Linked DNA regions of Homo sapiens: region 1 is linked to region 2. The links are contacts of gene promoters, found by promoter capture Hi-C in blood cells and fetal thymus (Javierre and others, 2016). All regions are on one chromosome and are shown on one strand. Each heading gives the region's core, a stretch centred on a gene start or on the middle of the fragment in contact. The rest is flanking DNA. Distances are from core to core; before and after follow the strand shown. Region 1 overlaps GNAQ (G protein subunit alpha q). Region 2 holds the start of GNA14 (G protein subunit alpha 14).

Evidence for each region. Contacts are between HindIII fragments. The CHiCAGO score rates a contact against its expected background, and 5 or more counts as called.
Region 1: a contact is called between a fragment that was not itself captured here and the fragment with the promoter of GNA14 in region 2, in 1 of 17 cell types (endothelial precursors). The highest score is 5.5, in endothelial precursors.

Annotation. Positions count from the first base shown.
Region 1 is chr9:77,743,894-77,750,193 of GRCh38, forward strand. The region is part of intron 5 of GNAQ (G protein subunit alpha q); the gene reads right to left. Among named protein-coding and RNA genes, the nearest start is that of GNA14, 99 kb to the left of the region's middle. The HindIII fragment of the contact is 592 bases long and covers 4,569-5,160 here.
Region 2 is chr9:77,643,946-77,650,452 of GRCh38, forward strand. It overlaps GNA14 (G protein subunit alpha 14), which reads right to left and starts at 4,377. Exons shown (of 7, transcript NM_004297.4): 1 at 3,725-4,377. The coding sequence starts at 3,848. The HindIII fragment of the contact is 2,117 bases long and covers 2,639-4,755 here.

The sequences.
Region 1 (6,300 bases), core at 3,615-6,114, 100 kb after region 2:
ATTCTGGCAGTGACCATGTGCTCATAACAGCTGGCATAAAATAAAAGGTACACAGATTTATATATTTCCTCTGACTTTAGGAATGTAATAGCAATTCGGATCAGAGTGCAAGGAAGAAATCATACATAGTCTAAATTACCCTTAAAAGTACATTTTGAATGCACCCCATGGTGACCATGAGACCATCTTGCCATTCCATATTTCGGATACAGACTGCCATTCTCTTAGTGGTAGGAAAGTTATAGTTACTGTAGTGAAGGATGAAGTTTGGTTTTGTCTTGTGTTTGCAGTTAGTGGCCTTGCTGAACAAGAATTAGTGTCACTGAACTAGGCTCGCACTTTGCACTGAGAAGTGCTCACACTACATGAGGCATCCAGGAACCAGGACTAACTGTGGGAAGAATGGATCCGACTTCTCCATCACATTATTTGACTGCATGCCTTCATTTGATGAAGGCAGCCCAGAGCCTTTTGGATAATTTACTCCCTCTTAATTCTCCCCCAACCCCTTTTTCCTGGGCACTTATAACTATATTCTTACAAATACGCAATGTGACTCTACTGTGTAATTACATAGCCATGTGTCTCTAAAAGTAACACCAGCCGTAAAAGATTTAGACAGTCTGAAAGAGATTATTTGGTTTGCTTAATCCAATGCATTCTGATGAAGGTGAAAGGGAATTTCCAAAATCATTGGGCTAGCTTTCCAATGATTTAAACTTTTAAAAGGACAAAATGGGGTGGGTAGAGGATTATGAAGAAAATTACATAATCAAGGATAATTAGGTAATATAATGACTTGTAAGAATTACCATCTTGCTGTATGCTACTATTAGTAGGTACTCAAAACTTGTTAAATAACTAAAGGTAAAAACTGAAAATGACTCAACACTTCTGAAAAATGCCCAGGGCAACTTGGATTTAAATAAAATCTCCAGGAACTTCCAGGAAAAAACTATTTACTTCATTCTGTTCCCCGAGACCCCAAGAAAATGAAACAACAATAACAACAACAAAACCTAATGAAGAAACTGGGAAATAATTCAAGCCACAGATGTGGAAGGATGTCTGCCAAATATATGGTATCGGCAGTGAACCCAGAAAGGATGCTGAAAACTATTAATCACCTTTCCATATTTCAATCAGGCTGAGATTTGTGTGAGTAAATGATAGGCTCTGGAAACATTCAAGTGATAATGTTTACTAACACAGAGGAGTGGAGGACTGAACTGGTTCAGTTCTGCGAGAGGCAGGGAAAAGTCGAGTAGGCACCTAGTTCTGTAACTGGGCTGAACAAGAGGCAGGACAGATGGGAGAAACAGCTGGGTTCTGCCATCTTTACACTCTCCAACACCCAGACTCCTAACCCAGGAAACTGCCTGGAGAGGAGGCAGGGAGGAAAGCTGTTTAGTGCTTCAGTGCTGTAAAACACCTAGGAATACCAAACCTTTGAAGAAAATCTCCAGCAGAAAATACTGAGACCTAAGCAAACGCACCGCAGTGAGTAGGGAAGGGGAAGAAGTAAACAGAGATCACTGTAAAGAGATCAATGCAAAAACTTAAAATACTTTAAAGTGGAAAAAAAAAATCCTCAGATCTTTCTGAAAGAAAAATAGGATACTGATACTGACTTAAGAAAGAAAATGTTTGGAGAATAAAAAGATCTCTTAGGATTTCAAAAAAAAAATCTTATGATTCAGCAGGTCATGCACACACACAAAAAAAAAATCTATGAAAGCCAAAAAACAAAGAAAGATAATTTGAAAGATAATTCTAGAAAATTTCTCAGGAAGTAGAAAAAGCAATAGAAAACTGGAGAGAAAAATAAAAAAATTTTAAAAAATATTTAAAAAATTTCAGAAAAATAAAAAAAGAATTAGTCAAAGTAGTTTCCTCTTCAGCTAAAAGACGTTATAGTAACAGAACACAGAGAAAATGGAGAGGAGGAAACTTTCAAATGAATACTAAATGAGCATTTCTTGGAATCAAATCTCTAGGTTAAAGGGCCCCAGAAGGGCTGGGGGTGGAAGAAGAAGAAAGAATACCTATACCAAAAGAGATCCTTCCTTAAATTTCAGAATTATCTTAGATAAATAAAAGATTCTAAAAACTTTTCATAGAAAATAGGTCACATATAAAGAATAAGGAAGCCGAAGAGCCATGGATTTTTTGAAAGGGATCATTGGAAGACTATGAAATAGTGTTTTCAGAATGATTTATATCTGAGTCTATACCCAGCCAAAATATCAATTAAGTTAGAGGGCAGAATAGGGATATTTTTAGACATGAATGGAATTTAAAAATTATTCCAAGGGTTCCTTGGATCCTTACTCAGAAAGCTACAGAAGGATATGTCCTAGTAAAACAAGGAAATAAGCCAAGGAAGAAAACAACATAGGATCTAGAAACAGGGAACTCAACACAAGAAAGATGTAAATGAACTCCTGGGGCAGCAGTGAAGCAAGGTCCCAGGATGACAAATGTATAAAATGCAACGGAACAACCAGTCCTGATTAGAAAAGACAAAGCCAAAAGGGAGATCTCTGATTTAAAATGAACAAAATGGAACTGATATATTATCTTATATGTTGACCGTGTTTTGAAAGATTTCATAGATCTGTCAGTGAATTAGAAAAGAATCAGCTAGAGATATACACACACAAAGAAACAAAGAAAATTAAAATGTAAGGCAATTAACTCGTGGGAAAAAAAGTTGACCAAAAAAATAAACGAAATTACAGCTGCTCATCAATGAACAATATTTACATTGTTAAATAGTGTAAACAGTGAATTATCAAAAAATTGGGTTATATAACTGTTGAAAGGATGGGAGAAAAATGATGTGGGAATGTTAAGACAGCATGATTTTTACCTACCATAATAGAAGATAATACAATCGACAAATCAAGAAAAAAAGAGTAAAAGCACACCATTTTGAGACACGAAGACAATAACAGAAACTAAGAGTTAGGAGTTAAGGGCAGTCCCCCTGGCTATCAGGAGGTGGTGGTGATGGTGACTGAGAAAGTGCTCTTTAAAAAATTTTGTCTTTTTTAGTTGTTTGGCTTTGTAAACCATTATTTGATAAAAATACAAACTGATTGATTTTTAAACTTAAAAAAAGATATACTGGTTCAGGTGTAAAATACAGTTCTGGGAAGAAGATACATATGAAACAGCTGGTGGTAGTTACCCAAATTTTAAAATGGGGGAGGTAGAGTGGAAACACAGGAGAGTTTTCACTCTCTTCTGTAGCCTTCTATGTATGTGGAATTTTAAATAATGAACATATATTACCTTAGTTATTAAAATAATAAATATATTCTAAGAAAATAATACATTTATTTTATATTTTAAATGTAACAGAAACATCAAAAGGCAAGACAACAAAGCAGCAGACAAGCTCATTGCTGGGAGTGACTCATGGTGCAGAGTTTGATAAATGTCACAGAGAAAACCAGAACCTTTTAACTCCTACTTTTGATCCTGAATACCCTGTTATGAAGAAGACTTTTCATACTGAAAAAGGTAGAGGAGATCAGTAAAAAGTAAGACTGGGAAGACTACTCTAATGAGATCAAGTATCTTTAACTGAAGACTTGACATTCTAAGACATTATCTAGCTTTAGTTATTACCATTTTCATAAACATCAGTTTATAAGATTAGCAAAGCCAGCAGGAATGGTCCAAAGACCCTTAATTTAAATGAAAAACAGGCACAGAATGGGATGATGCATGGAATGAAGTTTGACATACACTGTATTGAGAAAACTTTAGGTATTCTGAGGGCAGCCTGAAGACTCCATGCACCCACCCATAGCACCAGCTAGACAACAGGAAGAGAAGGCGAGAAAGAATTAGTGACAAACTTTCCTACCTTTAGAATGTGTCTTCAGGTTGTAATTCCCGTGTGGGACCTAATTTCTTGAACATCTGCTCTGCGCTAGGTGCTTCACATGCTACCTCAATTAGTTCATGCAACCTTGTGAGATAAAGACTTAAGTTTGAATTTCCCTGGCTACAAGTCCATGGTTTTTCTATTAAGCCATGTTGGATGGTGTCAATTGGTGACATCATCCATGTGAACATTCCTCATGTTTAGATCTAGCAGGACAATGTGGCATAGAGAGGGGTGGTCAGGAGAACTGAGTTCTTAGCCTGGTCCCAAGGCCACCTCTTGGGAAGTCCTTTCACCACTCTGGGGTCCAGTTTCCAAATCCAGAGTCTCCTCTATCTAACATTTTCAGATGAAATAAAATCCAGTGAAAGACATAATAACGGAATAAATATTTTCAGCTATTATCTTAAATGGATTACTTCAATATTCATCTTTTGTTTAAATCTACATCTCATTTCTCTTTAGGTAGTATCTTTTTGAAAAGCTGTCATTTCAAAGTACTGAAAACCTAAAATCTAGGCAATGAAAGTAGAGTAAATGACTGAGGTTTTCCTAAAATTACCCTGGAAAGATGAGAGGATTCAACTACTGTTCTGGGAAATGGAAATAGCTGTTCCCAGCACTCACTCCTCCCCTGATGCTCCCAATTAACTTTTAAGGACAAGCATGAAGCTTTGTAGAGCTTGATGCCTTCTGCAAGCACTACAGTAAATGTGGGGCATAAATTGCCTCCCATTAAGACAACTGTGGAGGATGACAGAAGTAGGTCAGTTTCAAACAACAGCCTAGCTTAGTAGCCTAAGTGGTATCTGTAATTCTAGGGTTGGGGCATCTTTGAAAGCACTGGCTAAAGGAAAAGTTATTTAACCCTTCTTTGCTGAATTTTCCAGCTCTCTCCACTTCTTGAGAGAAAATGTCAACTGTTATTGTCAGATAGAATATGAAAATAGGTAGCACAGCAAGAACATGACAAATGTTTAATAAATTACAAAGTAAATATAAATGACAAGTGTTTAATAATTGGATTTTGGCCCACAAGTGAGGTATGATCCAGGTACTGGAGCCAGTCCAGATGTTGTATCGGACTGGTCCTGTTATAAGCCAGATTCCACCAGTATAAAAAAGTTGAACACAGGGATGGAATGACTCCTCAGGGTAAGAAAGGGAAAGGGGGAGTTCTGAAGGAAGGCCATATTTCTGGCTGGGACACTGGCTTCTGACAGATTTCCAGTGGTTGACTGCATCCAACACTTCAGGCTTCAAGCTTTGGCTCTAGACCTACCTCCCTGCCCCATGTTCTCGACCTTAGCATTTGGGAAGGCTGTGGGGTCTTCACTCTTCACTGCCGCCAGGTTCTCAATCCTTTCCATAGTTTTGGCATTTTCTCTCTCCCCCTGGCTGCCATGGACCCATTCTTGCTTTGGGTCTAAGTCAAAACATCCCACTCAAACCAATACCTTGTGAGGAATGAGGCTCCACTGTACAGAAGCAACGAGCTGATGCCAGTTAAGACCTTATAAAGTGAGGGGTCTTGGGCATTTCACCCCCGTGTACTCCTTACTATAAATAAACACCCTTAACCAGGTGGTAGAATGTTATTCAGGAAAACAGGCAGAAGGCTTTAAATATGTTAGCAGATCCTTCTATCCTTCCTTTTCTCTTTGTTTAGGTTTCCCAGGAATGTCTTGTACAGGAACAAGTTTTTGCTGAGAACTGAGGACTTCAGAAACATTTATTTCCATAAATAATATACTAAATGCATATAATTTTTCTCTAGTTGCTAATACTGGGACTTGGATGGGTCTTCCAGGACAATAGGTGAAGGGTTAATTCCACATACTATACACAAATTGGTATTTCTCTAAAATAATGTTTTCAAACTAATGATAACAATCCACAGTAAGAAATACAGTTTACACAGCAATCCAGTATATTCACACACAGAAACACAGACATATAAAACTAACATTTCATGAAACCATACTTTTCCTTACAACATGCAATGTACTCTATTCTCAATTCCATCCCATCCTCCCTATAAAAAAATGCTAACAAGACCTATTAAATTGATTTTACGACCCAGTAAATGGGTTTTGATGTGATGAAAAAAATATTGTGTATATTTTTTTCATACATTGTAATTGTTCATATTCTGTATTTCTTCACTAATTTAGACTGTTTTATTCTCAATTATACTACAATAGCAAATATTTTGCAAGATTGGGCTAAAAAGTCTCTGTGGCCAAATGAATATATAGTTTTGAAATCTGGCTGCAGATGTGCTGATTGGCAAAGAACATTTAATTAGTCACATAAGGTACATCTTTAAAAAATATTATTTCCACTGAAAATCAGCTATAAACATATTTTCTTTTATAAATACCAAATTAATATTAAAGAAG
Region 2 (6,507 bases), core at 3,127-5,626:
TGTAGGGCTAGGGTTCAAACCCAGGCAGACTGGGCTAAGAATCTACATTTTTCATCTCTACACCAGTGTTTCTGGCTGAATTTAGTCCTCCCGCCAAAGTTTTTATGTTGAAATCCCAACCACTAGTACCTCAGAATGTAACTGTATTTGAAGATAATGTCTTTAAAGAGGTGATTAGGATAAAATGAGTGGGGCCCTAATAAAATAGGAACTGGTATCCTTATAAGAAGAGGAAGTGGCACGACACAGTGGCTCATGCCTGTAATCCCGACACTTTGGGAGGTTGAGGCAGAGGGATCGTTTGAGCCCAGCGATCATTTGAGACCAGCCTAGGCAACAAAAACCAAGAAAAATAAAAATAAGCCCAGCATGGTGGCTCACGCCTATAGTCCCAACTACTAGGGAGGCTGAGGTGGGAGGATGCTTGAGCCCAGGAGGTCAAGGCCGTAGGAAGCCGTGACTGTATTACTGAACTCCAACCTAAAGAGTGTCAAAAAAAAAAAAAAAAAAAAAAAAAAAGACACAGGAATGTGCATGCCCAGAAGAAAGGCCATGTGAGGCCACAGTGAGAAGGCAGCTGTCTGCAAGCCAAGGAGAGAGGCCTCCGGAAAAACCAAACCTGCCAAGCCAACACCTTGCTCTTGGACTTCCAGCTCCATAACTGTGAGAAAATTAATTTCCTTTGTTGAAGCCTCCCAGTCTGTGGTATTTTGTTATGGCAGCCCTAGCAAACTAATTCAGCCATATCTGTTAAATGCTCAATTCCTCTTCCTTCCAGAGAGCTCCAAGGTAAGGTCTGCATCCAGAATTAAAACACTCAACCCAATTAACAAGCCACACTTCACCAATCTGCATTTAACAGGAAAATCAATAAAACATCATTTTCCCTTATTTAATAGCTATTGTCCTGACACTTTCTCCCTATGCTGATCAGTACTCACCAATGTTCTTATCAGAACTTTTTTGTCCTACTTTTATGCAAGGAACTGATAAGAAATTTCTTTCTACTAAATTCAACCATCTCCTTTATTTTCTCCATCTCTTTCTGATGAGAAAGTGTCACACCAACATCTTGCAATTATTAGCCTTAACCAAACAACAGCTTTTATCTTTCCCTAGTAGACACTGACCTGTGCTTTTATTAAGCAGAAACAGGATACTGCACTTCAGAAACATCCTCACATCATTTTTTTGCAAAAGCATGCTTCATTGTGAAAGAGATGGTGTCTTTGGGGGTCATCCCATACTCCACAAAAGGATTCCAAACTCCCATTTGCAAAGTGAGGTTTTTAACTGAGGCACCTGAGCAGTGGATGCTCTAATCTACCCACTAGAGAGATGGGTGAATTTTTCACTCGAATTGCATGACTTCAGACAAAATGGTGCACATCCTCCCCTAATTCCTGTCACTTCTGAGTCATTGGCTCTTCCTTGAGAAGAAATGGAGCTATGCCCCAGGACTTTACAGATTGAAATAAATCAGAGGTTTTGAAGTCCATCCTTGGAGTTCTGAACGGCTCTGTGTGGTTTAGAAACTATTTTTCACAGGAAAGTTTTCACTAAGGGGATATGCTAGTCACAACTCCGCAAGATGAAAATGGGAGTTTCCAGAGGTCAGACAGTGCCTCAAGGTGGTAGGAGGAGGGTTGGAGCAATGGCCTGGGAAGATAAAGAAGACCCTCGGGTCACCCTGATTAATGTGACTTTCAGAGCAAACAATTTACCTACAAACATTTCTCCCCTAGTTTGTGGGTAAATGCGAGAATTTTACATCAAACAGGCTTATTACCAATACAGTACAGCTCAGCTGACTACACAATTTTTCATACAAAGAGCCAGCATTTGTCAAGCTCCTGGTATATTCTGGACACTGTACTTCATACATTGACACAAATCAAAGCATTGCAAAATGAAATAGGGTTCAGCCTGCCCTTATAAAGAAAAAAGTTACATACGCAACTAAACCCCTCTGGTTTGTGGGGTTCAGGGCAAAAGTACAAAGCCCCGCACCCATAGTTATTTTCTAGTGTTAATCAAGCTAGCAAATTCTCACGTATTCCTCCTCCCTTGACAAAGGTAGCTTTATAACAGCCTAGAAGGCCAGGGACAATTTAGAATTTTCAGACTTTTCAAAGTTATGGGTCAGACACAGAAATAGCAGACCTGGCCAATGAACAGAGCCCCTTCCCTTCCCCACCCAAGCTCCCTCTCTCCTAGGGGGGCCTCTTGGGCACCCACGGGGACTCCCTCCACTCCTACCCAGCCCACATTTCCAAGCACTTTTACGCCCCAGCAAACAGCTGCCCCTTTGTGAGCTCTCCAGGGATCAGGTCTGCCTTCTTTTCTAGGGCTCAGGCCTTAGAAGCTGGTATGGGTCCCTTTGGGCTGGGTATTCATTCCATCCAGGTCTTGGGAGGGAGGGGGCAGCATGGTCTCTGGGTAGCAAGCCCCTTTGGACCTACAGACTTCCAGCTCTGTGGGGAGGGGCACACCCCCCCCCAACCCCCAGAAGGCCAGACTGGGCCCTTTAAACCCAGGGGATAAGGATAAGGGGGTTCTTCCGCCCAGGTCTGAAGGCCATACTGGCTGAGAGCCTTCTCTATATTACACTAACTAGATCAACTTTTTCTTTCCTTGAAGCTTTCTGGGAGGGTGATTCCTATACAAGGAATAAAGATGAATAAATAGATGGTATAAGAGAAGATTCCTGTTCAAAAGGGGTGAAAGAAAAAAAGTTGAAATCTTTGTGGCTATCTAGAAAAAAATTGACAGCTGATATCATGGTCTGAAAGGTAGAAAAGGTAAAATATTCCTCAAACAGCAAATGTGTTGACAGCGTTCTAGAAAGTCTGAGATGGGATCCTTGCCTCATGGCATAACTTGGGCAAACCTTAAACTGTGTTCTTTCTGTGTTTGAAAGTGGATGTCCTACCCAGACCTTTGCAGAGACACCAAAAGAGCTGGATGAAGACCTGCCAGAGGCACCAGGGCAGCCAAGCTGAATCCTAGGACGTGGACACACTGAGTCAAGCTGGGCAAGGGAGGTTTGGGTCCGCTGCAAACACAAAGGCCTGAGGGACCCCCATGGGAGGCAGGCATAGGAGCTCACGGTCAGAGGAGCAGCAACGGCATGGGCTTCACCCCCACAGCTGACCTAGCATCGGCTTTGCCTTTTCTCAATCAGGGCAAGTTGGTCAGTTCTCCAGGCCTCCATGTTTTAATTCTCTAGAATAGCGATATCACCTGCCCGCATCACCAGGTGGTGATGCCCTTAAGAACTTAGCACGATCTGGCACATGGTAAATTCTCAAGATGCTTCATCTAGAACTGAAAGCGTACGGGTCAGAGCTAGCGCTGAACCCAAGATGTGGGTCACCACAGACCCCAAGCTGGGTGTGCTGCGGGCGGAGGAGTGGACGGGGTTTTGAGGAGAGGGGCACACCGGAACACATAAGGTACAGCGGTCAAGAGGTTAAGTGTTACAGGTCCCTATCCTGTTTTGGGGCAGGGGAAGGTGTTGCTTTTGCAAGTCGCCCAGCCAGAGATGGAAAGAACAGGCACCTAAGGCCCCAAGTTGCTGGCATCCGTGAGCTCCGAGGGGGAGAAGGACGAAGCCGCCCTGCACCCCGCTGGGCTCCAGGGCCGCGCGGGTGCCAGTGGAGAGGCCGGGAGGGCTCGGAAGAAAAACGCCCGGCTCACTGGAGTCGGAGACGCAGCCACTCACCCAGCAGCAGCAGCTTAAGCTCACGGCGCGCGTCCTTCTTGTCCCGACGAAGCTGTCGCTCGATCTCCGCGCTGATGCGCTGCGACTCCTTCTCCTCCGCGGACAGGCAGCAGCAGCCGGCCATGGTGCGCTCAGCTCAGTACCCGACGGGGCGACGCGGCCCCGGGCACCCGAATCCTCGGCCCGGCCGCTCACCCGGCCAGCATGCGACGGGCACAGGGGTGTGGAAAGAAAAGACGGGGGCCGACTTGAGCTTTGGAGTAAGACGCCTGGACCTCCGAGGCTCAATCCCCCTTCGAAAGTCGGCTCTGAGGCGGGGTGAATGCCGAGCGCTGGGAACGCTCGAGTGCACCCCGGATCCGGGCTCAGCCCGCCCCACTCTCGCTCTGGGGAGGAGGAGGGCGAGTCGAGAAGTTGGGAGCGTTGCTGGCCCCGGGAAGATGCGCGCGCCCCTTGGCACAGGAGCCGGACAGCAGTCGGGGGCGCAGACGAGTTGGAACGTCGGTGCTCGGGGGAGAGTAGGATCTCCTGGGCCTAGGGGTGTCCCCAGGCGGGAGGTAGGCGCGGAGTGGGTTGGAGGCAAAGGACCTGGCTGGCCTTTGCCTGGAAAGTTCTGAAAACCTCAGCAGTGACCGCAGACTAAGACTGAGTGGAAAGGTTCCCGCTAGCGTTTGTGGCTCTAAGTGGCAGGAGGAGGCGGAGCATCTTGAACCTGCAGCCCTGGCGTCTGCTGGACTTGCCCTTCTGGGCACCCCAAGCCGAAGGCGCCTGGAAGTGAAAGGGGACGAGCAGGGGGCGCGGAGCTGGGGGTGGGAGCTGGCACCTCTAGGAGCAGCTCCCACACTTGCCTCCCTGGCTGGGGCGTCCCGGCCAAGGTTTGCTGTAATCTGCGCGTCTGGCCGCCAGGCACCGGGTTCCGACAGGTGAGTGAGTTTCGCCAACTCACTCGCTCGGAGAAGGCGGCAGCAGGCTGGAAGAGGAGCGGCGCCAAGCGTCTGTTGCGGGACACAAAGCCCCGGACCTGAAGTGGAAGCTTGCCCACCAGCTTCACCACCACGCACACCCGGATTTCCTAGACTGGCTCCTTCCGCTTCCCGGACGCCCCGGCCCAGCTCGGGCTTGGCCAAAGCCCTTGGTCAGCTCGGCAATTTGCCTGTAAAGTGTGGCTGGGCCTGAGCCTGCTGGCTCTGAGCTCGGAGAAGGAGCCGCCGCTGGGTTCAGTTATAAGAGAACTGCAAGAGCCCAGGGTAAATATCCTCTCGGTCTCCGGACGAGGGGGCTGGGGAGAAAGGGAACGGCTGATTGCTTTGCATTTTATGATGGGAAAGACACCTGCTTTGTAGAAAGGGCTGATACGTTCCTAGTAGCACCTGGCAAGTTTCCTGCCCAGCCCTGAAGCCTAACAGCCGCCTTGCGATTGTGTCCGCACTGACACCTTGGCCTGTATCCTGGACCGTCGGGGTCAAGTTTGAGCAGCATTAATAAAAACTTTAAAAGCACCTCTTAGTACTTAAGTGACACGATAAAATGCATATTACAACATCTGACTTTTGTCTGTGTAGATTTTGATGCAGAAAAGGGAAGGTGGGGAGAGGGGATCCTATTGGCCACAGCAATGAACGTTCTTTCCTTCTCAAGTCAGTATAGGCCATATGCTAATGGGGCGTTAGGCAATTAGCTAGCGCTTCCTCTACTAAGAGCAGGCATAAGTGCCTTTCATTTGAGTAGCATATATTTTATAAATTCAAACTGAGGAGCACATTGAGTGGAATGGTACGTGTCATTATATAAAGAAGTTGGTATCGCGATGCTATCTGGCTGCATGTTCTTATTATTTTACAGTTTAAGAAATGTAGAGGAATCAGACATTAAAAATGTGCATACATGCTTTAATGTGTGACTATTTTAGTTTTCTTGCAGGCATAAATTGACAGTAACAGTGACCCCTACAGGAAAACTCCTGGACATTTCAGATTTGATCTTTGGCCATTTAATAGCCTGTTTCTTCTCTCTTAGCTCTTACGGATTCATTTACAATTTGAGAATAAGATCTCTTGGCTTCTCAAAGTCATGGTTGCATCATAATTGTTATCATTTAAAAATTATAAAAAATTTTTAAATGATTAAAACTAGGGCAAATTTGAACTCTTACGTTAACGGGAATTACTGATACTGACCTATTAGGTTTAAAGTTGGCAAGATTTCAAAAACAGTTATGAAACATATTGATTAGGGCAAATCTGTACAACTTTCCTGGGCTAGTCAGCTTGGCAGTATATATCTGAAGCCTTAAACATGTCCGTCCCCTTCGGCCAAACCAGTAATTTCTCCCTTAAGAAATAACTAGAAAGAAGCCTCATGACTGATGCAAAGGTTTTATTGCCAATACAACAACAAAAACTCACAACCTAAATACCTAACAACAGGGAAGAGATCACTTAAATCATGGTTTATCCATACAATGAGATGTTTTGGAGCCATTAAATATGTGGATATGCGAGTAGTAAACATGTGAATAAATTTGGAGAAAATCCTCAAAATATATTGAATGAAAAAGGCAAGATCCAAAAATATAAAGAGTATGATAAGATTTTAGTATAAGAATACGCATACACATTTTTAAGAGACTGAAGGGACACACATCAAAAAGGTAGCTTGCTGTGAGTCATGGCTGTTTGGTTGATTTTCATTGTTCATTAGAAAATTTGGGCTGGGTGCAGTGGCTCACGTCTGTAATCCCAGCACTTTGGGAGGCCGAGGCGGGCAGATCACCTGAGGTTGGG